Linked DNA regions of Homo sapiens: all the other regions are linked to region 3. Evidence: promoter capture Hi-C in 16 types of primary human blood cells and fetal thymus (Javierre and others, 2016). All regions are on one chromosome and are shown on one strand. Each heading gives the region's core, a stretch centred on a gene start or on the middle of the fragment in contact. The rest is flanking DNA. Distances are from core to core; before and after follow the strand shown.

Region 1 (6,506 bases), core at 3,488-5,987, 240 kb after region 3:
ACGCTCTTGGTGGGGGTGTAAATTGGTTTGACCACTGTGGGAGTGTGGTGATTCCTCAAAGAGCTGAAAACAGAACTATCATTTGATGCAGAAATCGCATTACTGGGTATATATCCAAAGGAATATAAATTGTTCTATCATAAAGACACTGAACCTGCGTGCATATGTTCAGTGCAGCATGATTCACAATAGCCAAGACATGGAATCAAATGCCCATCAATGGTAGACTCAATAAAGAAAATCTGGTACATGCTGAGCACGGTGGCTCACGCCTGTAATCCCAGCACTTTGGGAGGCCGAGGCGGGCGGATCACGAGGTCAGGAGATCGAGACCATCCTGGCTAACATGGTGAAACCCTGTCTCTACTAAAAATACAAAAATTAGCTGGGTGTGGTGGCACGCACCTGTAGTCCCAGCTACTCAGGAGGCTGAGGCAGGAGAATCGCTTGAACCCAGGAGACGGAGGTTGCAGTGAGCCGAGATTGTGCTGTTGCACTCCAGCCTGGCCGACAGAGTGAGACTCTGTCTCAAAAAAAAAAAAAAAAAAAGAAAAAGAAAAAAAAAAAAGGAAAATGTGGTACACATACACCATGGAATACTATGCAGCCATAAAAAAGAATGAGATCACATCTCTTGCAAGAACATGGATGGAGCTGGAGGATATTATCCTTAGCAAACAAATGCAGGAACAGAAACCAATACCACATGTTCTCACTTATAACTGAAGGCTAAATGATGACAACATATGGACACATAGAGGGGAATGGCACACACTGGGGCCTATTGAAGGGTAGAGGGTAAGAGGAAGGAGAAGGGTGGAAATAATAACTATTGGGTGCTAGGCTTAGTATCTGGGTGATGAAATAATCTGTACAACAATCCCTCTGGACATGCATTTACCTATATAACAAACCTGCATAAGTAACCCTGAACCTAAAATAAAAGTTTAAACAAAAAAAGTTGGTTCTAATGGTGCCCCAACCACTTTCTTAGCTGTGACTCAGATGCATTATCTATTCTGAGCCTCAGGTTTCCTGTTTGTAAACTGGGGGTGATAATGCTTTCCTTGCCCACATGGTGGATAGGAAGACACAAAGAGACAAGTCATGGGTACCAGGTGCAGTAATGATTTAATGCTTGGCAATAATTCACTTCTACTGTGATTAAAGCTCAGCTGGGAAAGCTTGGTGGGGCGGGGTGGGAGTCCCTCTGGGGGCACAGTGGGAAGAGGCACCCAACACAGCATCGAGGATGGGCGACATGGAAGTGTTTTTGGAGGAAAGGGGTCCTGAGCAGAGGTGGGAGGAGGCGGGGAGGACAGGGATGGTGCAATGGGGATCTGGGGAGAGCAGAGCTGGAGGAGGAGGGAGGAAGCAGGTCACACAAAGGTCCAGGACAAGGACTCCAGGCAGGCTGAGGGTGCTGGCGAGGGAAGGACTAGGAGGGGAAGGAGAGGAGCCAGGCAGGAGCGGGGAGTGGGGTGGATTTTCCCTGAGGGACGATGTGGAAGTTTTAAACTTTTAATTTTGAAATTATTTCAGATTTGCAGAATTTCCATATAGCCTCCTCCAGATTCCTCAGATGTTCACTGTTCACTTTTTACATTTGCTGTAGCTCCCGCTTTCTCTCTCTGCATGTGTGCAGACATACACGCACGCACACGCACACACGCACACATTCTTCCATATCATTCAAGAGTCAGTTGCAGAAATGACAGATTCCCCTTTACCTCTAATTGCTTCAGTATACATTTCCTAAAAAAACAAATCACCCCTACAGTCAAATGATCAAAATCAGGAAACCAACAATGGTATAAACACAACGATCTAATCTGCAGACATTATTGTAAGAAATAAAGAGGAAAGCAACATGAAAGGGCGGTTCAACAGGCAACAGGGACAGGTTTATGTTGAGTAAACCTGAGAGGGGCGGCTGGCCGAGTTAGGTCAGAGCCCCACTCTCTTACAGATTAAGAGTTAAGGATTCAGGGCGGGGGAGTTTATCAGAGGCTTGGACTGCTCCTGTGTCTCTTTGCTGTGCGTATCTGGGAGGGAGAGTTGTGTGTCTGTTCCCATATATCTTTCTGCAGCTACAGGCATATCCCCAGAGTCTGCTTTTAGCTTCCCTATCTTAGTGCCCCTGAAGGAAAAGGAATGTGCTTATTAAGGCCCACTGTTTTACTGGGGCTCATTGTGTGAGGGTGAAGTTTGGCAGTTACCAAAGAGACCTTCCCTCCACCCCGCTCTGTGCCGGAGCTGTCTTATCTGTATTTTACTGTCTGCTCTTTCTGGCTGTTGTAGTTAGAAGAGAAGTGATTTCCTTGAAATGCATGAGGCTAGAAAGGGAGCTGGAGCTTAAAGTGGCAGTATTTGTCCGAGATGACGGTGCTCCTGCTCTGACAATTACTCAACATCTGCCGACTGTCCTAACTGTGACTTTCATGGCAAAGGAGTACAGTGGTTTTGGGAGTCTGCAGGATCCAATCCAGGCTCAGAGTCTCGCTGGCGTGCCTCTTGGCCTCCTCTGATCTGGGACCGCCCTTCTATCTTCTTTTGTCTTTCATACCCTTGACATTTTTTAGTACAGCCGGATGATTTTGCAGAATGGCCCTCAGTTTGGGTTTGTCTGGTGTTTTCTCCTGGTTACATTAGATTTAGTTGATGCATCTTGGCCTTGTATTAGTCCGTTTGGCTGCTGTAACAAAATACAGACTGAGTGGCTTAAATAAGTCTTTTTCTCACAGCTCTGGAGCCTGGATGTGCTAGGTCAAAGTGGTGGCAGGTCTGGTTGCTCCTGAGGCCTCTCTCTTTGGCCTGCAGACAACCGTCTTCTCACTGAGTCCTCACGTGGTCTTTCCCCTGTGCTGGTGCGTCCTTGGTGTCTCTTTGAATGGTCAAATTCCCTCTTCTTCTGGCTGGCACGGTGGCTCACGCCTGTAATCCTAGCACTTTGGGAGGCCGAGGTGGGCAGATCACTTGAGGTCAGGAGTTTGAGACCAGCCTGGCCAACATGGTGAAACCCCATCTCTACTAAAAATACAAACTAATTAGTTGGGTGTGGTGGTGCACACCTGCAATCCCAGCTCCTCAGGAGGCTGAGGTGGGAGAATCACTTGAACCTGGGAGGTGGAGGTTGCAGGGAGCCAAGACGGCACCACTGCACTCCAGTCTGGAAGACAGAGTGAAACTCCATCCCAAAAAACAAAAACAAATTTCCTCTTCTTCTAAGGACACCAGTCAGATTGGATTAGGGCCACCTTAAGGGGCTCAATCTTAAATCACATCTTTAAAAGCTCTATCTCCAAATACAGTCACATTCTGAGGGATGGGGGTGGAGGGTTAGGGATTTCGCATATGAATTTTGGGGGGATACAATTCAGCTTGTACAGAAGTGATGTTGTGTCCTTCTCAGTATCTCGAGGCACACCCCGCTGGCTTGTCCTGTTATTGCTGATGTGACTTTGATCACTTGGATAAGGTGGTGTCTGCCAGGTTTCTCCACCATAAAGTAATGATGTTTCTCTTTGTAATTCATGAGTATCTTACAGGGAGATACTTTGAGACTATGTAATCAATCCTGCTCCTCTTCAAATGTTCACTGGCTAGTGTGGTTGCCAAGTGGGTGGTGGTTCTCTAACTCTACCCTTCCTTCTGCATTTATTTGCTATCATAAGAGAGAACTTTTCCTAACGGGGGCTTTTAGGGGCCAGAGAGAGAATCAGCTGGAGTCTTTGAGAGGCCTGGATTTTGCCTGGTGCTCACTGTTTATGAGCACAAGGGCCCTGGGAAGTCACTTACCGGCTTTTTTCCTCTATCTGGAGAGTAAGGATGAGAATGATTATGGTGGGGATGCAATTACATAAGACACGGAGAGGTGTTTCCCCACTGGTCATGGACCCATGGGGAAAGTACGTCTCCCAAGGTGCTGGAAATGGGCAGGGAAAGAGAAGGGGGGCTTCCTCAGGGCCAAGGGCAGAACACCTTTGGGAAAAGGGTACCAGAGTATCCAAGAGAGAGAGAGAGCGCGCACGAGCGCCCTGAGCCCTCGGTTACGACTCTACGTTCTTGCAAAGACTCATGGACACCAAGAATTATCAGCCTGGGAGGATCCCAGCTCCTCTGCTCACCCACTGGAGACCTTGGAAAAGTCCCTTCCCTGCTCTGTGACTTGCTTTCCTCATCTATAAAATGGGGTTATAATAGCACCTAAATTGTAGGGTTGCTCTGAGGATTAAATGAGATAATCCATGTGAAGCAGGCAGAACAGGGTCTGCACATGGTCATCATTTGAACACGATAGCCATTACAACCACGATTATTTTTATTGATAAAGAGAGAGGGTCAGATGGAGGTGACTTGACTTGGAATCTTGGCTTTATCCACTTGGCTTCTGGTTTTTGGGTTTTTTTTTAGAGATGGGGTCTTGCTATATTGCCCAGGCTGGTCTCAAACTCCTGGGCTCAAGCAATCTGCCCGCCTCTGTCTCCCAAAGTGCTGGGATTACAGGCATGAGCCTCCACACCTGGCCACTTGGCCTGTTTGTAAACCTGTTTGTTCATTTCTTTCTTTCTGTTTTTAACCTATGAATTTTTTTTTAATGGAACTTCAGTTTCTTTTCTTTCTTTTTTTTTTTTTGTTTTGTTTTGAGACAGAGTCTCACTCTGTCGCCCAGGCTGGAGTGCAGTGGCGCGATCTCGGCTCACTGCAAGCTCCGCCTCCCGGTTCACACCATTCTCCAGCCTTAGCCTCCCGAGTAGCTGGGACTGCAGGCGCTGGCCACCATGCCCGGCTAATTTTTTATATTTTTAGTAGAGACGGGGTTTCACCGTGTTAGCCAGGATGGTCTCGATCTCCTGACCTTGCGATCCGCCCGCCTCAGCCTCCCAAAGTGCTGGGATTACAGGCGTGAGCCACCGCACCCAGTTGGAACTTGAGTTTCTTAATCTATAAAATGGAACTAAGAATACAGTCCACCTAAGTGGGGCGCCGTGTAAGTATCAGTTGCTTGCCCTGTCTCCTCTGTGAATAGAGCCTAGGGAAGGCACTGGAGGAGGATGGAGCCTCTCTAGGCTGGAAAGACAAAATCCCCTTTCAGGGGATCCATGCATGCCAGGAAACCAGCAGGAAGCAGGCTGCCTCACTCCGGGGCCTGCAGAGTAACCCAAGAGCAGCGCCAGCTGTGTGTGTATGTATGGACCGTGCTCACCGCAGAGATGCTCCCAGAAGGCCAGTGGGAGCGCATTTAACTGAAGACAGGCAGCCCTGCTTCCCCTGAGGGAACAAAGAACCTCAGAGAATCTCATCAGCTGCGAAGAGCTGGGCTCTGCTGCTGGACCACATGGCTCTGAACTCCAGCTCCTCTGCTCCCCAGCTGAGCAGGCTTGGTAGGGTTGCTTAAGCTCTCTGAGCCTCAGTTTTCCCCTTGGTGAGTGACGATGATAGTGGTACCTAACTCAGAGGGGTGCGTGAATATTTGATGAGCTCATCCATGAGCAAGTTTCAGCCTTACGCTGGCACATAGTGAGTGCCCCATAAGTGTTAGCTATTACTGTTTTCATTTTTTTTTTTTTTTTTTTTTTGAGATGGCGTCTCGCTCTGTCACCCAGGCTGGAGTGGAGTGGCAGGATCTCGGCTCACCATAACCTCTGCCTCCTGGGTTCAAGCGATTCTCCTGCCTCAGCCTCCTGAATAGCTGGTATTACAGGCGTGCACCATCACACCTGGCTAATTTTTGTATTTTTAGTAGAGATGGGGTTTTGCCTGTTGGCCAGGCTGGTCTCGAACTCCTGACCTCAAGTGATCTGTCCGCCTCATCCTCCCGAAGTGCTGGGATTGCAGGCATGAGCCACCGTACCCAGAAGCTATTATTGCTTTCACTGTGTTGAATGGTGGCCCTCAAAAGACATGTCCACAACCTAACCCCTGGAACCTGTGAATGTGGCCTTATTTGGATAAGAGGACTTTGCAGATGTAATCAATTTAAGAATCTCAAGATGAGAGCACCCTGGATGATCCAGATGAGCCCTAAGTCCAGTGACCAGTACTCTGTGAGAGACACATGAAAAGAGGGAGGGGGAAGGCCAGGTAAAGAGGAGGTAGAGATTGCAGTGATGCAGCCCTAAGCCAAGGGACGCCTGGAGCCACCAGAAGCTGGAGGGGCCAAAAAGTCTCCTTTTCTAGAGCTTTCGGAGGAAGTGCTGGCATCTGATTACAGACTCTGGCTTCCAGACTGTAAGAGAATAAGTCTCTGTTGTTTAAAGCTGCCACGTTTGTGGTAGTTTGTTCTGACAGCCCGAGGAAACAAATACACCACTGTTGTTTCTGCGACGATTGCCTGGCACATGTGTGGGCCTGAGCCCAGGCCAGGGCTGCCTCTGCCTGCTCTGCCTTCTTGTCTTCCTTCCTACTATAAAGCGATCAGTCCCCAAGGTTGTACCCACTGCAGGTGAAGACAGAGCCATGGAGAATTGCACCAGACCATGGGTAAGAAAGGTTCCAGAATGGGG
Region 2 (6,585 bases), core at 184-2,683, 200 kb after region 3:
ACATGGTTGGTTTAGTGCTTCGCAGTCAAGATTTCCCTTGGACCTTAGGGAAATGAGAAATATAAGAATAACATGGTGAATTTTTCATGACTAAATTTGTTCAAATTGAGAGCACTGTTTTCTTGCTTATGGGGTATTAATAGTTAGGTCTCATGAAATTGTATTGATAAAAAAAGATGGTAGTTATTTTTACCTTATGGCTTTTAATATCCTAACTAAACAAAAAATTGGTGAGTGACGCGAAATTCTCTCCCTGCCCCAAATCTTTTGGAAAATTAACTTACCCTGGAAATCCATAAAAGTGGAATGCACTGAAATACAGCCATGCAGCCCCTTCCAGTCCCAGTACTGCTCAGACCTGTGCCATACAGTACAGTAGCAGTTAGCTGCATGTGGCTATTTAAATTTCAATGAAATAGAATAAAAAATTCAGTCCCTCAATTGTACTAGCTACATTTTTCCTTTGGTCCTGGAAATGGGAAAATTGCTCTCTGTTGCAGTTAGCCTTTTTACCACTAGATGGCGAGGACGCCTCCACAAGCCCTGATGCTGTATGAGTTAGCACTTTAATAGCGTTTACCATTGGCTGTCTTGGGCACCATTGGGTGGATAGGTGGTTCCAGGGAGGGCAGAGCTGAAAGGAGAAGCAATTGTTGGCAGTTGTGGGCATCCCCAGCCCCGTTTTATAAGATTGTTTTGGTCTGTATCTCTTTTCTGACTCTGATATTCTGTCTTTGTTTTCCTTGTAGGACCTGGTGTTTTCTGCTTCCCCCGATGCCACTATCAGGATTTGGTCGGTCCCCAATGCCTCTTGTGTACAGGTGGTTCGGGCCCATGAGAGTGCTGTGACAGGCCTCAGCCTTCATGCCACTGGCGACTATCTCCTGAGCTCCTCCGATGATCAGGTGCGGTCCCAGCCAGTGCCCTGGAGAGGCCTGCTGGTCCCCAAGCTTGAACATCCTGGGTGGCAGGAACATCTTCCCACCCCAGCTGGTTCCCCAGAACCTCAAAGGAGAATGTTTGCCAGGGTTTGCCAAACCAGGGGCTCTGTCTTGCTGAAGGGCCACCAGAACCTGGGACCCACTTTCTCACTGACTCCATTGTCTCTTTTTTTTTCCCCAGTACTGGGCTTTCTCTGACATCCAGACAGGGCGTGTGCTCACCAAGGTGACAGATGAGACCTCCGGCTGCTGTAAGTTGCCTCATAGGCACTCAGCTTTTTTGTTTGCTGTTTATTATTTATTTTTACATTTTATTTAGTCATTTGTTTATTTGTTCTAAAGATATATTTACCATGAGCACCTGTCTAGTGCGGGCTTTGTGCTGGGTTCACTGAGGAATGTGAAGAACAAGGAACCTACCTTTGCTGCTCTTAGTCTCTCTCCCTGGTGGGCTCTGACCACAGGTCTCTCTTCCCTCCTCCACAGCTCTCACCTGTGCACAGTTCCACCCTGACGGACTCATCTTTGGAACAGGAACCATGGACTCTCAGATCAAGATCTGGGACTTGAAGGTAGGACATGGTAGGCCTCCATCTGAGGCCCAGGGCCAGAGGGAGTGTTTGTGACAATGCAGTGCTAATTAGGTGCTTGTGGCACCTGGCCCTGAAGGTGGAGAGACACTGGCTGTGCGTGTGTGATATGATGGTGTGGTCTGGGGGGTCCCGCTGGCTGTCCTTCCTGGAAGGACGTGAGGGACATCTCAGGTAGGAGTTTGGTGAGCCCCATTTTCTTCCTCTCATGATCTGTGGGTGACGTATTTTACTACCCACCGCCACTGTAGGAACGTACTAATGTGGCCAACTTCCCTGGCCACTCGGGCCCCATCACTAGCATCGCCTTCTCTGAGAATGGTTACTACCTGGCTACAGCGGCTGATGACTCCTCTGTCAAGCTCTGGGATCTGCGCAAGCTTAAGAACTTTAAGACTTTGCAGCTGGATAACAACTTTGAGGTGTGCCCTTCCCCCTCCGCCCAGCTTTCCATTGTGTCTCCTTGTTTGTCAATTATTTATTGAATTAATCTAATTGCTTCTGCTTATCCGCAACTGCCCCATAGTTTCTGTTCCCCTTGTGTGACCTTCTCTCTTTCTATTTCTGGCAGGTAAAGTCACTGATCTTTGACCAGAGTGGTACCTACCTGGCTCTTGGGGGCACGGATGTCCAGATCTACATCTGCAAACAATGGACGGAGATTCTTCACTTTACAGGTAGAGGCTGGTCCTGGGCTCCTGGGATCTCTCTAGGTGCCCAGGCCCGGAGGGAAGCCTCACTGGGTTAGGAATTTCTAGGGCTTGCATGAATTTACCTAAGCAGCTTTCTGTTACCACCTGAGGCAGAGCTTTATGACTAAGGAAGCAACTGAGTCAGACTGCATGGCAGTAGATGCTAGTGCTTGTTCTGCCACTTCCATGCCCTGTGGCATTGGGCAGGTTACTAAAGGGAGAGAAAAGTCCCTCTGAAGTTTTGATAACTGAATCTAAAATAAATGAACATTAGACAGTGACAGGAGGAGAGCCATTTTAATTACGTGCATATGCACGGGAGGCCCACATTATATTAGATCTGCAGAAGGGTCAGATGATTGAAGCTTATACAGTTTATATATCACTTAATAATGGGGATATGTTCTGAGAAATGTCTTGTTAGGTGATATCGTCATGTGCGACCATTGTAGAGTGAACTTACATATATCTAAATGGTGTAGCCTACTACACGCCAAGACTATTGCTATAACCTTAGTATAGTCTATTATTGCTCCTAGGCTACAAACCGGTACAGCATATTAAATGTAGTGAATACAATTATAACACAATGGTAAGTATTTGTGTATCTAAACAAGTGTAAACATAGAAAAGGTTCAGTAAAAATAAGGTATAAGAGATTTTTTTAAAATGGTACACTGGTATAGTGCTTGCCATGAAAGGAGCTTGCAGGACTGGAAGTTGCTTTCAGTGAGTGAGTTGTGAGTGAATGTGAAGGCCTAGGACATTACTGTACGCTGCTGTAGACTTTATAAACACAGTACACTTAGGTTTTACTAAATTCATAAAAAACTTTTTCTTCAGTAATAAGCCTTAGCTGACTTTTACTTTATAAACTTAAAAAAATGGATTCTTTTGTAATAACATTTAACTTAAAACTAAAACACATTGTACAGCTGTACAAAAATATTGTCTCTCTTTACATCCTTGTTCTATAAGCTTTTTTCTAATTTTTTTATTTTTATTTTTTACTTTTTAAACTTTTCTTGTTAAAAACTAAGACACAAGCACACATTACCCTAGGCCTACACAGGATCAGGATCACCAACTGTATTAGTCCGTTCTCACACTGCTATGAAGAACTGCCTGGGTAATTGATAAGGGAAAGAGGTTTAATTGACTCACAGTGACTCGGGAGGCCTCAGGAAACTTACAGTCATAGCAGCAGGGAAAGCAAACATGTCTTTCTTTACATGGCAACAGGAGAGACAAATGCTGAGCAAAGGGGCTAAAGCCCCTCATAAAACCATCAGATCTCGTGAGAACTCACTATCATGAGAACAGCATGGGGGTAACCACCCCCATGATTCAGTTACTTCCCACTGGCTCCCTCCCACAACACGTGGGGATTATGGGCACTACAATTCAAGATGAGATTTGGGTGGCGGCACAAAGCCTAACCATAGCACCAACATCACTGTCTTCTACCTCCACATCTTTTCCCACCGGAAGGTCTTCGGGGGCACCAACATGCATAAACCTGTCATCTCCTATGATGATAATGCCTTCTTCTCGGATACCTCCTGAAAGGGCCTGCTTGGTGCTGTTTTACAGTTAACTTTTTTTTATAAGTGGGAAGAGTATATTTAATACCAAAAAAAGTATAGTATAGGCATACCTTGTCTTATTGCACTTAGCTTTATTGTATTTTATGGATACTTTGCTTTTTATAAATTGAAGGTTTTTGGCAACCTTGCCCCAAGCAAGTCTGTCAGTACCATTTTTCCAACAACATGTGTTCACTTTGTGTCTGTGTGTCAAATTTTGGTAATTCTTACAGTATTTCAAACTTCTTCATGATTTATTGTGTCCGTTAGTGATCTTTGATGTTGCTATTGTAATTGTTGGGCGGGGGGGCACCATGAAATGTGCCCATAAAAGTTACTGAATTTATTTGATAAATGAAATGCTGTGTGTGTTCTGACCACTCCACCCACCAGCCGTTCCCCATCTCTCTCCCTCTCAGACTTCCCTATTTCCTTAGACACAACAATATTGAAACTAGGCCAGTTAATAACCGTATTATGGCCTCTCGGTGTCCAAGTGAAAGAAAGTGTCCCATGTCTGTTACTTAAAATCCAAAGCTAGAAATGATTGAGCTTAGTGAAGAAGGCATGTGAAAAGCCAAATAGGCCAAAAGCTAGGCCTCAACACCAAATATTAGTCAAGTTATGAAAGCAAAGGAAAATTCTTGAAGGAAATTAAAAGTGCTACTCCAGTGAACGCACAAATGATAAGAAAGCAGAACATCCTTATTGCTGATATGGAGAAAGTTTCAGTGGTCTGGATAGAATATCAAACCAGCCACAACATTCTTTTAAGCCAAACCATAATCCAGACCAAGATCCTAACTCTTGAATTCTGTGAAGGCTGAGACAGGTGAGGAAGCTACAAAAGAAAAGTTTGAAGCTAGCAGAGGTTGGTTCATGAGGTTTAAGGAAAGAAGCCATCTCCATAACAGAAAAGTACAAGGTGAAGCAGCAGATGCTGTTGTAGAAGCTGCAGCAAGTTATCCGGAAGACCTAGCTAAGATCATTGACGGTGGGTACACTCAACAACAGATTTTCAATGTAGACGGAATAGCCTTCTATTGGAAGAAAGTGACATCTGGAACTTGCACAGCTAGAGAGAAGTCAATGCCTGGTTTCCAAGATGCAAAGATCAGAGTGATTCCCTTGTTAGGGACTAATGCAGCTGGTGATTTTACATTGAAGCCAAAGCTCATTTAGCATTCTGAAAATTGTAGGGCCCTTAAGAAGGTGGGGCTAAATCTACTCTGCCTGTGCTCTGTAAATAGAACAACAAAGTCTGGATGACAACACATCTGTTTACAGCATGGTTTACTGAATATTTTTTAAGCCCCCCATTAAGAGGTACTGTTCAGAAAAATAGATTCCTTTCAAAATATTACAGTGCACCTCATTACCCTAAAGCTCAGATGGAGATGTTTCATGCCTGCAACATCCAATCTTCGGCTTATGGATCAAGGAGTAATTTTGACTTTCAAGTCTTATTACTTAAGAAATACATTTTATAAAGCTATAGCTGCCCTGGATAGTGGTTCCTTTGATGGATCTGGACAAAGTAAATTGAAAACCTGGAAAGGATTCACCATTCTACACGCCCTTAAGAACATTTGTGATTCATGGGAGGAGGTTAAACTATGAACATAAAGAGGAGTTTGGAAGAAATTGATTCCAACCCTTCAGCCCTCATGGATGACTTTGAGGGATTGAGGACTTCCATGGAGGGAGTAACTGCAGATGTGGAGGAAATGGTAAGAGAATTAGAATCCAAAGGGGAGTCTAAAGATGGGACTGAATTGCTGCAATCTCATGTTAAAACTTTAATGGATGAGGAGCTCTTAGGGATGACCAAAGAAAGTGGTTTCTTGATGGAATCTTCTACTGGTGAAGATGCCGTGAACATTGTTGAAATGATAATGAAGGATTTAGAATATTACATAAACTTAATTGATAAAGCAGGTGCAGAATTTGAGAGGATTGATTCCAGTTCTGAAAGTTCTACTGTGGGTAAAATGCTATCAAACAGCATCCATCACAGAGAAATCTTTTGTCAAAGGAAGAATCAAATGATGTGGCAAACTTCTTTGTTGTCTTATTTTAAGAAATTGTCACAGCCACTTCAGCCTTCAGCAAACACCACCCTTGTCAGTTAGCAGCCATCGACATCAAGGCAAGACCCTGCTGGTGGGTCTTGGAAAAAGATGACAACTCACTGAAGTGTCTGATGGTTGTTAGCATGTTTTAGCAATAAAGTATTTTTGATTAAGGTATGTACATTGTTTACTAGACATAATGTTATTACACACTTAATAGACTACAGTATAGTGTAAACATAACATTTTTTTTTGAGATGGAGTCTTGCTCTGTCGCCTAGGCTGGAGTGCAGTGGCACGATCTTGGCTCAATGCAACCTCCACCTCCCAGGTTCTAGCACAGGTGGGCACCATCACACCCGGCTAATTTTTGTATTTTTAGTAGAGACGGGGTTTCCCCATGTTGGCCAGGCTGGTCTTGAATTCCTGAACTCAAGCGATCCACCTGCCTCGGCCTCCCAAAGTGCTGGGATTACAGGCATGAACCACCATGCCTGGCCAACATAACTTTTATATGTAGTGAGAAACCAAAAAAATTTGTGTGCCTTGCCTTATTGCAATATTTGCTTTATTGGTAGCCTGGAGCTGAACCAGCGATGTCCCTGAGATATGTCTGTACATAAACCAGTAACGTACTGTACCTAATTATGTTATACTTTTTTTTTTTTTGAGATTGAGTCTTGCTCTGTCACCCAGGCTGGAGT
Region 3 (7,350 bases), core at 4,195-6,694:
ATGGGGGAAACTGGGGCCAGAAGGAGGGAGGGGTTCATTCCAGATGTCTCTGTGGGAATCTGTGGCAGTGCATGGGACCCTTGTCGTCTCTGCAGACTGCCACCACCCATTTCCTACGCTATTCCTACCGTATCTGTCCCCCGGAGAGGAGTATTAGGGTCCCTCTGGACACCATGAAAGTCAGGCCTTGAAAGGTACATGATGGTGATGATGATGCTGGTCACGGTGATAGTGGTAGCTATAGAAGAAGTGATCCAGGCCCACAGTCTCTTATCTGCAATTCAAAATCCAGAATCTAAAAGTCTTGTTCTAATGCATTTGGTGGGAGGGTGTTTGCTGTCTTTACATCCCTCTAAGTGTGCAAATTCATGTTTCACTGCAGAAATGGGAATGTGTTGAACGCAGGGTGCTGCCCCAGGCCTCACTGCGTGTGTTAAGAGCACACAGTATGTACACAGTATTTCCTTCTACAATCTGAAAGCTTCTGGAGTTCCAAATGCATCTGGCCTGGGGTTCAAGATGCACTTGAGGACCTGGAGAGGTGAGAGTTATGCTCACCTCTCTGCTCCTGTGTGGCTGTCCAGTGCATGGGAGAAAAAGCCCAAGTCCTCACGGGGGCATCCGTGGCCCTCGTGGCTGCCTCATCGATCCCCCACTGACCTGCAGCTGGAGGCCCCTCTGCCTGCAACGCTTCTCCTCAGGTCCCACACGGTGGGCTCACTCCCTTCTTTCAAATATTGACTCAAATATCATCTTCTCATGAGAGCCGCTGAATCCTCCCCAGGTACCTCACACCCCACCAAGGCTTCCGGTCCCAGCCCTCCTCTATCTGTCTGTCTCCACACCTCTCATGACCGTCTAGTATTCGCATAATCACTAGCTTAGCTTGTGTCTTGTTTGTCTCCCCATCACACCCTGACTATTATGCCAGATCCACCAGGGCAGGGATTTTCCACCGTTTTGTTCACTGCTGTGTCCTCAGCACTTAGAACAGCATCTGGCACATAGTAGGTGTTCAATCCATACCTAGTCTCTGAATAAACCCGATGTAATTATTGCAGTGATCTTTTGAGGTGGACACAGCAAGGAACCCCTATTTTTATAGATGAGACCCTGAGAGATGTTCACTTGTGGGTGGCCAAGCAGAAATCAAACTAGGTCTGCATTGCTCCAAAGCTCCCCTCCACAGGGCTGTGCACATATGTGTTCATACGCAAACACAGCACATGGACACACACACACACAGTAGATGTTCAATTTCACACACACACACAGAATAGATGTTCAATCAATTTTGTCAGGTTGAGCTGAATTCGCCGCCTGGTCACTGCAGGGAAAACCCCTCTGAACTGATGGTGACAGAGTGACCCAGGAAGGCCAGGTCCCTTCCTGGGCCCCCAGGTCCCTTCATTCCCTGCTGGAGGTGGGGAGCTCTGGGTCTTCGAGGAGGATGATCCAACCAGGGCCTCGCCCAGCCTGGGACAGTGGGCCTGCTGCCCTGCTCCCAGTAGGAGCCCCACCCTCTCAGGCCTGTCCTTCCCCCTTGCCTTTGCCCTGCCATCCGCTCTGCCTGGGACCCTCTTCCCTTTTTTCTCTGCCTGGCTGGCTCCGTCCCTCATTCAGGTCTCGGATTCTCAGATGAGACCTCGCCTCCTTAGAGAGGCCCTCCCTGCCTGCCCAGCCAAAGGGATGTCCTCCTATCCTAGTGCAGACTGTATTGTGCCTGAGGAACTTGCTGTTCTCCTCATTGCACTCAGTATTTCAAAATGTGTAAATATTTCGGGTGCCTTTTTTTTTTTTTTTTTTTTGAGATGGAGTCTTGCTCTGTTGCCCAGGCTGGAGTGCAATGGCGCGATCTCGGCTCACCGCAACCTCCGCCTCCCAGGTTCAAGCGGTTCTCCTGCCTCAGCCTCCTGAGTAGCTGGCATTACAGGTGCGTGCCACCACTCCCGGCTAATTTTTGTATTTTTAGTAGAGATGAGGTTTCACCATGTTGGCCAGGCTGGTCTTGAACTTCTGACCTCAGGTGATCCACCCGTCTTGGCCTCCCGAAGTGCTGGGATTACAGGCATGAGCCACCATGCCCGGTCTTTGGTGCTTGTTTACTTGTGTTCTCTAACAGCTCTCCTGTTAGCTGATCAAATCCTTGAGGGCAGGGACTCCTGCCTTGGTCCCTGTATCCCCAGTGTTTTGCACAGAGCTGGATGCACAGGAGATGCTCAATAATATTTGTAGATGAAAAATGAATGAATTAGTGAATAAATAGCCTGTGCAAGAGGATTGAGGGGTAGAGAGATTGACGGCTGTGCAGGCCTCTGGCAAGACCCTCCTCCCCATTGGCTCCTACCTCGCATTGTTTCTTGCTGACCCTGGTAATAATAATAATCATAGTTGTTGCTGTTATTATTGTTTATTGAGTACTTACTATACTATATGCCAGGATTGTACTTAAGCTCTGTGTGCATTGATTCATTGAATCCTTATAAGCCTCTATGAGGTACTGTTGCACCCAGTTTACGGATGAGAAAACTGAGGCTTACAGAACTAGTCCAAGGTCGCCCAGTTGGTAAGTGGCAGACTGGAATTCAAACTGCAGAGTCCATGACTTTCCCACGTCCCAGTGCTGGCTTTCAGAGTCGCATCGGCTAGGCCAGTCAGGGACGTGCAGTTTGTGTTAGAGCCGCTTCCCCGCCTCACTGCCAGCAGCTGTCCAGGCAGGCTGGGGCTGAGAGGGGAGCAACTGTGGGAAGCCCTGGCCTGTCACTAGCACCCAGGCCTGCTGGGGGCATCTTCATGCCTCAGGATCCAAAGGTCCCCAAGCCCCGATGCCAGCCAGGAGGCTGTGGTGTCCCCAGGGCTCTGGCATTGCTGCCTCTCTCCTTGGAATGGCTCAAAGGGTGCCTGCACTGTTTGACTCCAGCAACCCTGGCCCTTGGTGTCCCCAGCTCTGGTGGCTGTATCTCTGCTGGTGGAGGTTGTGTCCCAGGGCCATTTTCCTGCACACGGAAGTGCCTTTGGTGGCCTTCCCTTTTAGCTAAGGGAGGGGCCTCTGTGAAGGCAGGAATGCTGGGCTGGGGTCAGCTCGGCTGTGCACCAGCTGCTGCACCCTGGGTTTGCACTCGGCCTTCCTGGGCCTCGCTTTTCCCCACTGTAAAATGGGGCCAATGGGCCCACCTACTTCATTGGCTGTTGTGAAGCTTGCAGCAGAAAATGGCTTTAAAAGTGCTTTGTAAACCGTTACCCACTGAACAAAGGGAATGCTTGGTACCCACCGGCTCACTCAGACACTGGGAACTGAGTATTCCTGGGGTTCAAGGAGGTCCCCATACTGGGGTGAAGGGGCTACCTCCAAGTCTTCCTGACTGTGGCCTGTGTTGGGCCAGGGGACTTGCCTGGTGCCATCAGGAGCCTCACCCATGATGGGATTCAGTTGGGAGGGCCCTAGAGCAGGACACGGGTTCCCATACTCAGCTGGGAGCCGCCCTATCTCAATGAAGTCTGAGGCCAGAGGTGAGGAGCAGGTGGGGGGTTTAAGGGCCTGGTCCCTCCTTAGCAGGGTCCCTGAAGCCAGCCAGAGGTCTGTCTCAGGCCTCTTACTTTGGGACAGAAGGCATTTTGTACCTGTTGTTGTTACATGTGAGAAGAACCATGTGAACATGTGTGCACAGGTGCCATTGTCACATGTGTTGGGGAGATAATCCTGCCTTTGGAGGCCGCATTGTGCTCATGAAAGCACACACACACAGTTCTCACACACATGCGCACAGACTCCCACACACAGACTCACACACAGACTCACACACAGACTCACACATTCCCCCCACACAGTACTCACACACATGCCCAGAGACTCACACACAGACTCACACACAGACTCACACATTCCCCCATACACAGTTCTCACACACATGAACACAGACTCACACACAGACTCACACGCACAGACTCACACTTTCCCCCCCACAAAATACTCACACACATGCCCAGAGACTCACACACAGAGTCACACATTCCCCCCCCACACACAGTACTCACACACATGCCCAGAGACTCACACACAGACTCACACACAGACTCACACATTCCCCCCCACACAGTACTCACACACATGCCCAGAGACTCACACACAGACTCACACATTCCCCCCCAGACAGTACTCACACACATGCCCAGAGACTCACACACAGACTCACACACAGACTCACACATTCCCCTACACACAGTACTCACACACATGCCCAGAGACTCACACACAGACTCACACACAGAGTCACACATTACCCCCCAACACAGTTCTCACACACGTACACACAGACTCACACAGACACACATAGACTCACACATTCCCCCACACACAGTTCTCACACACATGCACACAGACACACACACATGCATTCCCCCACACTCACACCTGCACACCCGGTTTCCCTAGAAGGCTGCTGAGGCTCCCTGCTCAGGCAGGCAAGGCCTCCGGACCCTCTCCCTGCCAGCCTGGAAGCTGCTCGCATCCTCCTGTTTCCAGCCCAGAGTCACGCACCTCTGTCACCCTGCCAGACCTTCTAAATCCTCAGGAAGTGGGTCAGGCCTCATCCAGTTCACACCCCCAACCCCCACATTTCATAAATGGGGAGATCAAGGCCTGGAGAGGCTTGGGGACCTATCCGAGGTCACACAGGGTTGGGCTTACAACCCAGGGCTGGAGTGAGAGCAGGCCCAGCGTGTACTCATCCCAGCCGGCCTGGCTGGGCCCCTCTGGGACTGACCCAGGACTGGGCATGAGAGGGCCTAGGACTTCCGCTATGAGTCCTTGACATTTGCTCAGACATCGTCCTCAGAGGCGGCTCCACCCTGCCTCGGCCCACTGTCTGTCCAGAGCATCATCAGAGCTGCCTCGGAGACGGCGAGTTTCCATGTCTCTGGAGGCGACCAAGTAAAGGCTGGGCTGTCAGTGGGGGACCTCGCAGAGGGAGGCCTGAATGCTCTGCTAAAATCCAACTCAGCCTAGGAATCAAGTTGTCTGGGCCCCATCAAATGCGGGTCCCCCCTGCAGTCTCTCTTGCACTGGAAGGGTAAAGCAGGGTTCTCAACAGCGCATGAGAGAGGCAAGGTTGTGCTCCTGGCGGGTGGGACATGCAGGACAGAGGGCCAAGCTGCGGCTTAGTGGGGGCAGGCAGGGATCCCAGTGGCCCCAAATCTCCACAACGCTCCAGAGGGCTGACATGTGGATCCCAGAGTCAGCCTTGGGTAAAACTGGGAACTCCTTCCTTGCACTGGAGCGAGCCCGGGTGTTCGCAGGACACCTGGGAGGGGTACTCACCCAGCATCCCCAGCAGGTACAAGGTGGCCAGCGGTTGCAGAGACCCCATGGGCATGGTTTCTGGCCTTCTCTTGCCTCAGCCTGGGCAGCTGGGCACCGCAGGTGAGGGTGTCTGGCCGGGTATCTCGCTCTCAGAGAGGGAGAGGGCGGGGTGGCGTGCTCAGGGAGGGGTGGGACGGGGAGCAGGCAGTGTGGGGCCTGCGTCACCCATGTTTGAAGTTGAACTGTCAACTTCCTCCTGGCAAAACCACCTGCCCCTGTTTGAATGGCAGCCCTGGCCTCTGCCAGCTTCCTGCCCAAGGTACCCAGGGCTGGGGCAGTGCTCTCGGCCACCCCCACACAGGACAAGGCCATGCATCCTGGAGGGACAGGGCTGCAGGGGGTGGGGACCCTGAGCGGGGGTTACGGAGGCTGAAGGCCTGGCTGCAGCTGAGGGCTGGGCTGAGGACAGGCGTCCCTGAGGCAGGGGTCTGGGTGGGGAGAGGCGGGAAATGGGCAGCATGATGCCAGTTCTTGTTGCAGACTCCAGTGAAAGCCAAAACCAAACCCTCCATTCCCCCTTTGTGAGGGATGAGGTTGGAAGTTTGAGCTGACTTTCCACAGGTGGTGTTTTGCTAGCAAGTACAAGAGATGGCTGCGCCATGAATGCTGGGCTTGTGCCAGTGTGTGTGTGTGTGTGTGTGTGTGTGTGTGTGTGTGTGTGTAGAGAGAGAGAGATCTCCATGTTGACTTGTGTGATCTCTGTGTTGTGTGTGTCATCTCTGTGTTGTGTGATCTCCATGTTGAGGTGTATGTGTGAGCTCCATGTTGAGTGTGTGTGATCTCCATGTTGATGTGTGTGTGAACTCCATGTTGATGTGTGTGTAATCTCCATGTTGACGTGTGTGATTTCTGTGTTGTGTGTGATCTCCATGTTGATGTGTGTGATTGTGATCGCCATGTTGATGTGTGTGTGATCTCCATGTTGATGTGTGTGTGTGATCTCCATGTTGATATGTGTGTGTGATTTCCATGTTGTGTGTTTGTGATTTCCATGTTGATGTGTGTGTATGATCTCCATGTTGACTTGTGTGATCTCTGTGTTGTGTGTGTGATCTCCATGTTGGGGTTGATGTGTGTGTAATCCCCATTTGATATATGTGTGTGTGATCTCCATGTTTGTGTGTGTGAATGTGATCTCCATGTTGATGTGTGTGAATGTGATCTCCATGTTGACGTGTGTGTGTGATCTCCATGTTGATGTGTGTGTGTGATCTCCATGTTGATGTGTGTGAATGTGATCTCCATGTTGATGTGTGTGTAATCTCCATGTTGATGTGTGTGTGTGATCTCCATGTTGATGTGTGTTTGTGATCTCCATGTTGATGTGTGTGAATGTGATCTCCATGTTGATGTGTGTGTGATCTCCATGTTGATGTGTGTGTGTGATCTCCATGTGGATGAGTGTGTGATCTCCATGTTGATGTGTGTGTAATCTCCATGTTGATGTGTGTGTGTGATCTCCATGTTGTGTGTGTGTGATCTCCATGTTGATGTGTGCGAATGTGATCTCCATGTTGATGTGTGTGTAATCTCCATGTTGATGTGTGTGTGTGATCTCCATGTTGATGTGTGTGTGTGATCTCCATGTTGATGTGTGTGAATGTGATCTCCATGTTGATGTGTGTGTAATCTCCATGTTGATGTGTGTGTGTGATCTCCATGTTGATGTGTGTGTGATCTCCATGTTGATGTGTGTGTGATCTCCATGTTGATGTGTGTGAATGTGATCTCCATGTTGATGTGTGTGTAATCTCCATGTTGATGTGTGTGTGTGATCTCCATGTTGATGTGTGTTTGTGATCTCCATGTTGATGTGTGTGAATGTGATCTCCATGTTGATGTGTGTGTGTGATCTCCATGTTGATGTGTGTTTGTGATCTCCATGTTGATGTGTGTGAATGTGATCTCCATGTTGATGTGTGTGTAATCTCCATGTTGATGTGTGTGTGTGATCTCCATGTTGTGTGTGTGATCTCCATGTTGATGTGTGT
Region 4 (6,927 bases), core at 2,135-4,634, 170 kb after region 3:
AGACACCTATGGAAGGGCAGAGGGCAGGTGGGCGGGCTAAGCCACTAAAGACAGGTGTGAGGCTGGGCCGGGTGGGTGGCTCATGCCTGTAGTCCCAGCACTCTGAGAGGCCGAGGTGGGTGGATCGCTTGAGTCCAGGAGTTTGAGACCAGCCTGGGCAACATGGCAAAACTCCCTCTCTACAAAAAATACAATAAATCAGCCGGGTGTGGTGGCACATGCCTGTAGTCCTAGCTACTGGGGAGGCTGAGGTGGGAGGATCCCTTGAGCCTGGGTAGCTGAGACTGCAGTGAGCCGGACTGTACCATTGCACTCCAGCCTGGGGACAGAGTGAGACTCTGTTTCAAAATAAATAGATTAAAAAAAAAAAAAAGGCATGGGCCAGAAGAGAGCAGCCCTGACCTCAGGCCGTAGGACGGGCTCCCACTGAGTTCAGCTCTGTGTGTCACTGGAATGCATGTTGCAGCAGGATTGTTGGTTAAGCCCCTGTTCTTTGTTTAAGATTTTACTGTAGGGGCCATTCCTTGAGGTTCCCTGGGGCTCAGTCAGGGGAACTGGCCATTGCATACCAGTCTTCCTCCTGGCAGAGCAGGGGTGTGAACCCAAAACTTTGGCTCCTTATTCATGCTGGCCTTTGACATTGCTCTTGGAGCCACCTGGCAACCAGCTACAGCCAGGTAGGCAGAGGTGGGACAAAGCAGATCTCCCACCAAGGCCCTCCAGCAGGAACCACACACATTTGAGCAAAGGACCACAAGTGGGGAAAGGCACCTTCCCCCTTCAGGTGGCTGGGATTTGCATACATGCAGACTCCATGCTTCCCCTCTTAGAACTTCAAGATAGAGGAAGTTGCTCTACCACCCTCCCTTTTATTTCACTTCACAATCACCGGTAATAATAATAATAATAATTTTTACCATTGTATAATTATTACATCATATTATAACAGCAATAACTGCCATTGTTTCAGCCCCTGCTATCTGCTAAATACTGTCTTAAAGTGCTTTTAATTCTTACAACAACCCGAAGATATGTTCTCATTTTAAAGTTTAGGTAACGAGGCTCAGAGAGGTTAAGAGACCAGCCCATGATCACAAAGCTGGTTGACAACAAAGATGTGTTTCAAACTAAAACTTTCTGATCCCAGAGTATGTGCTCTCGACTCTCTCAGGCCAGCGCACTTGCCAGTGCAATAATGAGCGTGAAAGTGTCTAAGGTCGGGGGGCTGTTAGGGTTACTTGACTCGGGAGAGAGGTGGCTGGAACAAAAGAAGTTGAAGCTGTGGTTCCTCCCATGAGGTTTCTCGTCTCAAGAAGAAGCTGTTCTCTTGGGGACCCACATGAGGAAGGAGGAAAGGTGTGTGTGCGTAACTGTGCCCACACAAATGCAGACTCACATGAGCTGGGCACCTGCCACTCACCTGCAGGACCTGTGTGTTGGCAGACTCGCAGCCGACATGCTCTGTCACCTCCACCAAGGCCCCCCCGCCGTCCACAGTGACAAGGCGCACGGGGACATGCTGGGGCACTCCAGTCAGTGGTGCTGTATTCACCAGCTCCTCAGCCTGGGGGTGGAGGAGGGGCTCAGCCCCAGGCCCCTCAGCTCATGGGGCTCCTGGGACTTGGCCTCCAGCCTTCCCAGGCAGAGATGGAGGTCTCCTTACCTTGGCCAGTGGGATAAGGGCTCTGATGTCCCGCTCAGACACCAGGATTTCCCACACCATTTTGTCCTTCTCTGCTTCAGGGGCCTGGCCTGGGTACTCCAGCTGCCACGTGACGGGGCGAGTGACCGCTACGCCCCCACCAGTGCTATTCTCCACCACAAAGTCCACCCATAGGAACTCAGACAGTTCAAGGGGACTGCTGGCCAAAGGAGACAGAGAAGCCAAATGCTTGCTAGCTGCCAGGCATGGCCTCAGCACTTCCTGCATTCATGATTATCCCCATTTTACACAGGAGGAAACTGAGGCACAGAGGTTACATAGCTCACTTAAGACCACACAGCAAAAAGTAGCGGGGCTGGGATCTAAACCCAAGCATCCTCGCTCTAGACCCCAAACTCTGACCCACTCTTGGCCTCTCTAAGATCCATGAAGCCATTTAACCACCTCCCACCTGGCAAGGTGGCTCACTCCCCTGCCTGCCCGGGCCCGCTTCCCCCAGACTTCCGCTTTCCACAGCCACTGAGGTGGCATGCGGGAGATTCACTTCCAGGTCCCAGGACCAGACACTTGACCCTCTGAATGATAAGCTTCCTTTGATCAAACAAAAACCTATGTGCTGGGAACCGTCCTGGGTGCCTGATATGTAGCACTGTATTTTATTTTCAAAAATGCTAAGGGATGCATTATTATTCCTATTTCACAAGTGAAGAAACTGAGGCTTGGGTAGGGGAATGTTAACTGGCTTGCCCAAGGTTTTGCCCATCCCAAAAGCATCAGAACCAGAATTCGAACTGGGGCTACTGAGTCCATGGCCTTGACCCAGGCTCAGGGCATGAATAAGAAGAGTTCACAACCGCAGAACTGCAGCTGGGCTTTTTGGGGGAATGTGAACGGCCCAGAGAAAGGATCATTTGGTGGAAGCAGGGGGATGGAGTAGTGGCTATGAGGGCTCTACCTGGGGCACAGGATTGGTTGGCATCTCTTAGAATAAGACTCACAGACACTTGCTATGCCTGGCACATGGCTGGGGCTGGGAAGATAGTGGCCGAATGAATGAATGAAGGAATGGATTATGCCTGCTTTGTGCTGCTTCCTTGAAAAAATCTGTCCTTGGGTCTGCTCACCTGGGGATCTAGAGGCAGCATGGCAGCCTCCAAATCTGCTCAACTGCACTCTATAACCAGCCCTCCCTCCTTTGCCCCCTGGGTGGAGGGAAACTGCCCACCTGGAATCTGGCTCTGTGAGCCCAGCACGGTGGCAGGTGATGAGGGTGGTGTGGTGCCTGGAGCCCTTGAAGCGGTCCAGCTTGGCAGTCCAGAGTGTGGGCTGGGCTGGGCGGGCGGCTGTCACATGCAGCCCCTTCTTCACCTTGATCCTGGGGAAGAGAGTATAGGCTCAGTTTGGCAAGGTGCATGCTGAACTGTGGGCTGGATTGAAGGGGAAAGACAAGGAGCCAAAGCCATCTGACCTCCCTGGCTCCAGTCTGAATCTCCTCTTCACCATCCTCCAACCCAGAAGGACCCCGCCTCAGTGCAGCTCACACCTTACAGCTCTCCCCCACCCAAAGACCACTTACGCCTCCCCACTGCCCATAAGGTCAAAGCTTAGCCGGGCATTTGGGGGCCCTCCAGGGTCTGGTCCAGCCTTAACTTCGGTTGTGACATCTCTCCATGCACTCTCTGCTTCAGCTACACACAAGTTTCCCACACACACGGCACCCATTCGTGACTCCAAGCCTTTGCCCAGTCTGTGCCTTCAGCCTGCTCTGCCCTTTCTTACTTTACCTGCTGATGCTTTAAGCCTCCAACAACTCACAGACCATTTCCTTTAGAAAGCTTTTCCAGTGGTGGGATGAATTTCCCCCTTACTGCACCCACTCACCTGAGCTCCCACCGCACTTTGAACCTCCCTCAGTGCTTACACACCCACATGCCTTCTAATCCAATTCATGCCCATCCAGCTCCCTTCCCTACCACTGGGGCCCCTTTCTGCCAGATAGGGACTGGCCCTTGCTCGTGTTTGGATCTGCAGAGTGAAGACACAGGGCTTGGCAGGCTGTAAGTGTCTAGGAAAGATCTGCTTAATAAGAGTGAGCATAGGAGGGCGTAGGAGATGGGGAGACACAGAGACGGGACATGCACAAACCCAGGCAGGGCTTGAAACTAGGTCTAGGTTTCAAAGCATGTCCACAGACCGCTCTTCGATCCTCAGGAAAGATATCATTACAAAGTGAGCAAGTCCCAGTGCCTCACCCTAACCAAGCCCAGGACTATCCTGCCTAGAACTCAGGCTTCTCAGAATCTTAAAGCCTAAGAGATGCCTCTCCCATGGATTCCTGCGCTGGACTCCAGAAGCAAGTCATACTCTGCAAGCCCTTGCCGGGTGAACTGGGTAGGTGGGTGGGGGCTGCTTTGGGGGAACTTATTACGGAAAAGGACACAAAGAATCAGGGCCTTCCTATGGGGAAGAGCAAGCTCTGTCCAAAGGCTAGACTCCTACGGCGAGGGTGGCAAGGAGGGACAGCATGTAGGTGAACGTGATTGGGGCAAATATCCCTCTCTGGAGCACTGGAGCAAGAGCTCACACTTAGGTACTGCAGTCTCTAAGCCCTTTGCGGGTTCCCCTCCCTGGAGACTTGCAGCTGCCCTGAAGGTGGACCGTTAGCCCCATTGGACAAAGGAATCTCAGGGAGGTGCCAGGGGAAGGGGCAGCTTCCTACTTCTGACTCTAATTCCAGGGCTGTGCCCATGGTGGGCTCCTACCAGCACAGTCATGGCTTTTTACCTGGAAGGAGTTTAGTTTGGTGGACACATGTTTTGCAGAGGTCAAGGATTCCAGCAAGGACCCCAGGAGGAGCAGGTACCTGTCCCTAGTCTTCCCACAGAGGTTCCCACCCTCACCCATCCCCGTGGCCTGGTGCTCACCGCAGGGTCAGGAGGCTGGCTGTGAAGTTGTGCCGAAGCAGGAGGGTAGCACTAAAGAGCTGGCCGGGCCGCACTGGCATGTCAGGCACCCGCAGAGTCACAGCCTCGTCCAGAGGTACCTCCTGGTACTGCGGGGGGTCTGCTGGGCGCAGCTCCACACCCCCCACTGGGAGGGCCTGCTCCCCAGGGTCGTTCTCCTCGCCGGAGCCACAGCCCCCAGGGCCCTCAGCTGCAGGCTCAAGCGTGTAGGCCAGCTCGGCCCGTGTGGTGGAGGCCTGTGAGAACCAGTGCGAGGGAAGCTCCAGCTCCACCACGCAGGCGCCCAGGGATGGCTGTGAAGACACGACAGCAGTAATTGGCATGGGGGTGGGTGCAGGGCGAGGAACAGGATTCTCAGCACCCATGGCAGGAAACCCAGAGCTGGAGGGGCTCATGAAAGGGAGGCCCAGCATGGGCCGGAGACACAGCCTGAGTGACACAGCAAACCAGCAACCTGGCTGGGGCTTCAAACCAGGTCTAGGTTTCAGAGCATGTCCGCAGACCACTCTTCAGCCCTTGGGATAGGTCTCATTACAAAGTAAGCCAATCCCAGGGCCTTACCCTAACCAAGCCCAGGACTATCCTGCCTAGAATCCAGTCTTCTTCTCAGAATCCTAAAGCTCAAGAGACGCCTCTCCCATGGATTCCTGTGCTAGACTCCAAAATAGTGGAAATAGCAATTATAAAAGTAACACTACTAATAATGCAAACACACTGGCTGATTGATTACTCTGCCGTAAGCTATCCTTACATTCATCTCACTTGTTCCTTACTCCAACTCCAGATGGGGTAGGAATTCTTAACACCCCATTCTTCAGATGAGGAAACTGAATCTCAGAGAGATTAAGTTACTTACTCAAAGTCACACACCAAGGACTGAACTCCCTCTGGGGCCCTAAATAACCTTTTCACAGCACTGAAAGCTAGTGGGGGCAGAAATGGAGTCGGGTGGTCCACAACCCCCGCGCTTCCCAGGAGTGGGGGTTTCCTCTCTGCCGCGGGCCCACCACCTGGCTGATGCAGCTGCAGCAGGACCAGCCTAGGTGGGGCCTGTCTACTCACCTGGAAGCGGCAGGCTTGGTGAGCAGTGCCGGCAGGGTGTGTGGCATGGAGCCGGGCACAGGGCAGGCTGCCAGACCCTGGTGGCCAATCCTGCCCTTTGAGGTGGAAGAGAACCCGGGCGTAGGGCTCTGCTGGAGTCACAGCCGCTTCCACTGAAACGGCCCGCACGTCCCATGGGACTGGCCGTTGGTGGGGCTCAGTGACTCGAGGGGGGACCACCTGGAGGGAGAATGAGAGGGCTTAACAAAAGAGGAGCTTGGGAGGGGAAGATCTAGGAAGATGGGATCCCAGCTTGGCAGAAGAGAACCTTTATGGGCCTCAGTTTCCCCCTCTGGAATATGGGGAGCACAGCCGGGGCTGGGGAAGGCTCCCAATTTGTACCCAGCAGACCTCAGGCCCTGAGTCCTGTTAGCCTGAGAGTCCCCGGTGCCCCCTCCTTACCTGCTGAGTGGCAAAAGGTGGGTAGGAGGCCCGGAGAAGTGGCTGGGCCCTGGGCCAGGGCTGTAGGAGCAGAAAGGTCTCAGATCGGGAGCTCAGAGAGGAGTTGGCAGGTGGGTAGTGGCCCACCTGCTGCACACGGAAGTGTTCAGGGGCGTCTAGGAGCTCCAGGGCTGCCGGCAGGTAGACAGGGTCCAGGGGAGCCTGGCCACAGTCCACTGAAGAGGCATAAGAGGGAGAGATGATGACAGCTCCAGAGCTGGCAGGGGCTGACCCGGGTGCCATGCTGGGGCACAGTAGTTGTGGGCAAGGGAGGGAGAAAAGGGCTGTAAATGTCCCTTCCCCTCTCACCACCATTTCACAGATGAGGTCACTGAGGCTTAAAGAGCCTCACACAGGTAGTATGTAGCAAAGCCAGGATTCGAATCTGAGTCCAGGACTGGATGCTTCCCAGCTATTCCTTCTACTTTCCACAGACCTTGGCCTTCTTCTCGCCAACAGCCTTCTCAATGTCTCCTTTTCCCCAACTCCTGCCCTCCATCTACTCGCCTCTGATACCAAGGCACTTCTGGGGTGCAACCGTCGGCAGACTGGGCCAGTGTAGTAAAATATGGTAATGAAGTGAGCTTTCTCTGCCCTGAATCCTTGGCCAGGCTCTGCTGGGCATCCACCCCTCCTCCCCCATCATTGCCATGGCAACCTGCACCATCTTTCCAAGCTTGCTCCCTTCTTCCCTGAACCGACTGGTATCGAGTGCAAGTGTGGGATGGGCGGGCGCGGAAGGTGCTGAAGAGGTCTGTG

The links. The method cuts DNA at HindIII sites, captures the fragments that hold promoters and counts their contacts. A CHiCAGO score of 5 or more calls a contact.
Region 1: a contact is called between a fragment that was not itself captured here and the fragment with the promoter of CD5 in region 3, in 2 of 17 cell types (naive CD8 T cells and total CD8 T cells). The highest score is 7.1, in naive CD8 T cells.
Region 2: a contact is called between a fragment that was not itself captured here and the fragment with the promoter of CD5 in region 3, in 5 of 17 cell types (total CD4 T cells, naive CD4 T cells, non-activated CD4 T cells and 2 more). The highest score is 8.5, in total CD4 T cells.
Region 4: a fragment that was not itself captured here is called in contact with the fragment with the promoter of CD5 in region 3 in 11 of 17 cell types (naive CD8 T cells, activated CD4 T cells, non-activated CD4 T cells and 8 more); the score reaches 16.0 in naive CD8 T cells.

What each region holds. Positions count from the first base shown.
Region 1 is chr11:60,859,901-60,866,406 of GRCh38, reverse strand. No RefSeq gene overlaps it. Among named protein-coding and RNA genes, the nearest start is that of ZP1, 4.4 kb to the left of the region's middle. RefSeq lists silencers at 1,913-2,130, 1,977-2,271. The HindIII fragment of the contact is 7,101 bases long and covers 1,187-6,506 here.
Region 2 is chr11:60,893,469-60,900,053 of GRCh38, reverse strand. PRPF19 (pre-mRNA processing factor 19) reads left to right here. Exons shown (of 16, transcript NM_014502.5): 11 at 750-905; 12 at 1,123-1,192; 13 at 1,428-1,513; 14 at 1,783-1,953; 15 at 2,103-2,208. Among named protein-coding and RNA genes, the nearest start is that of PRPF19, 9.8 kb to the left of the region's middle. RefSeq lists an enhancer at 392-917. The HindIII fragment of the contact is 961 bases long and covers 953-1,913 here.
Region 3 is chr11:61,100,583-61,107,932 of GRCh38, reverse strand. CD5 (CD5 molecule) reads right to left here and starts at 5,444. Exons shown (of 11, transcript NM_014207.4): 1 at 5,318-5,444. The coding sequence starts at 5,372. The HindIII fragment of the contact is 6,487 bases long and covers 3,200-7,350 here.
Region 4 is chr11:60,926,621-60,933,547 of GRCh38, reverse strand. TMEM132A (transmembrane protein 132A) reads right to left here. Exons shown (of 11, transcript NM_178031.3): 2 at 6,130-6,344; 3 at 5,689-5,907; 4 at 4,588-4,919; 5 at 2,889-3,038; 6 at 1,664-1,859; 7 at 1,421-1,564; 8 at 1-6. Among named protein-coding and RNA genes, the nearest start is that of TMEM132A, 5.6 kb to the right of the region's middle. The HindIII fragment of the contact is 232 bases long and covers 3,269-3,500 here.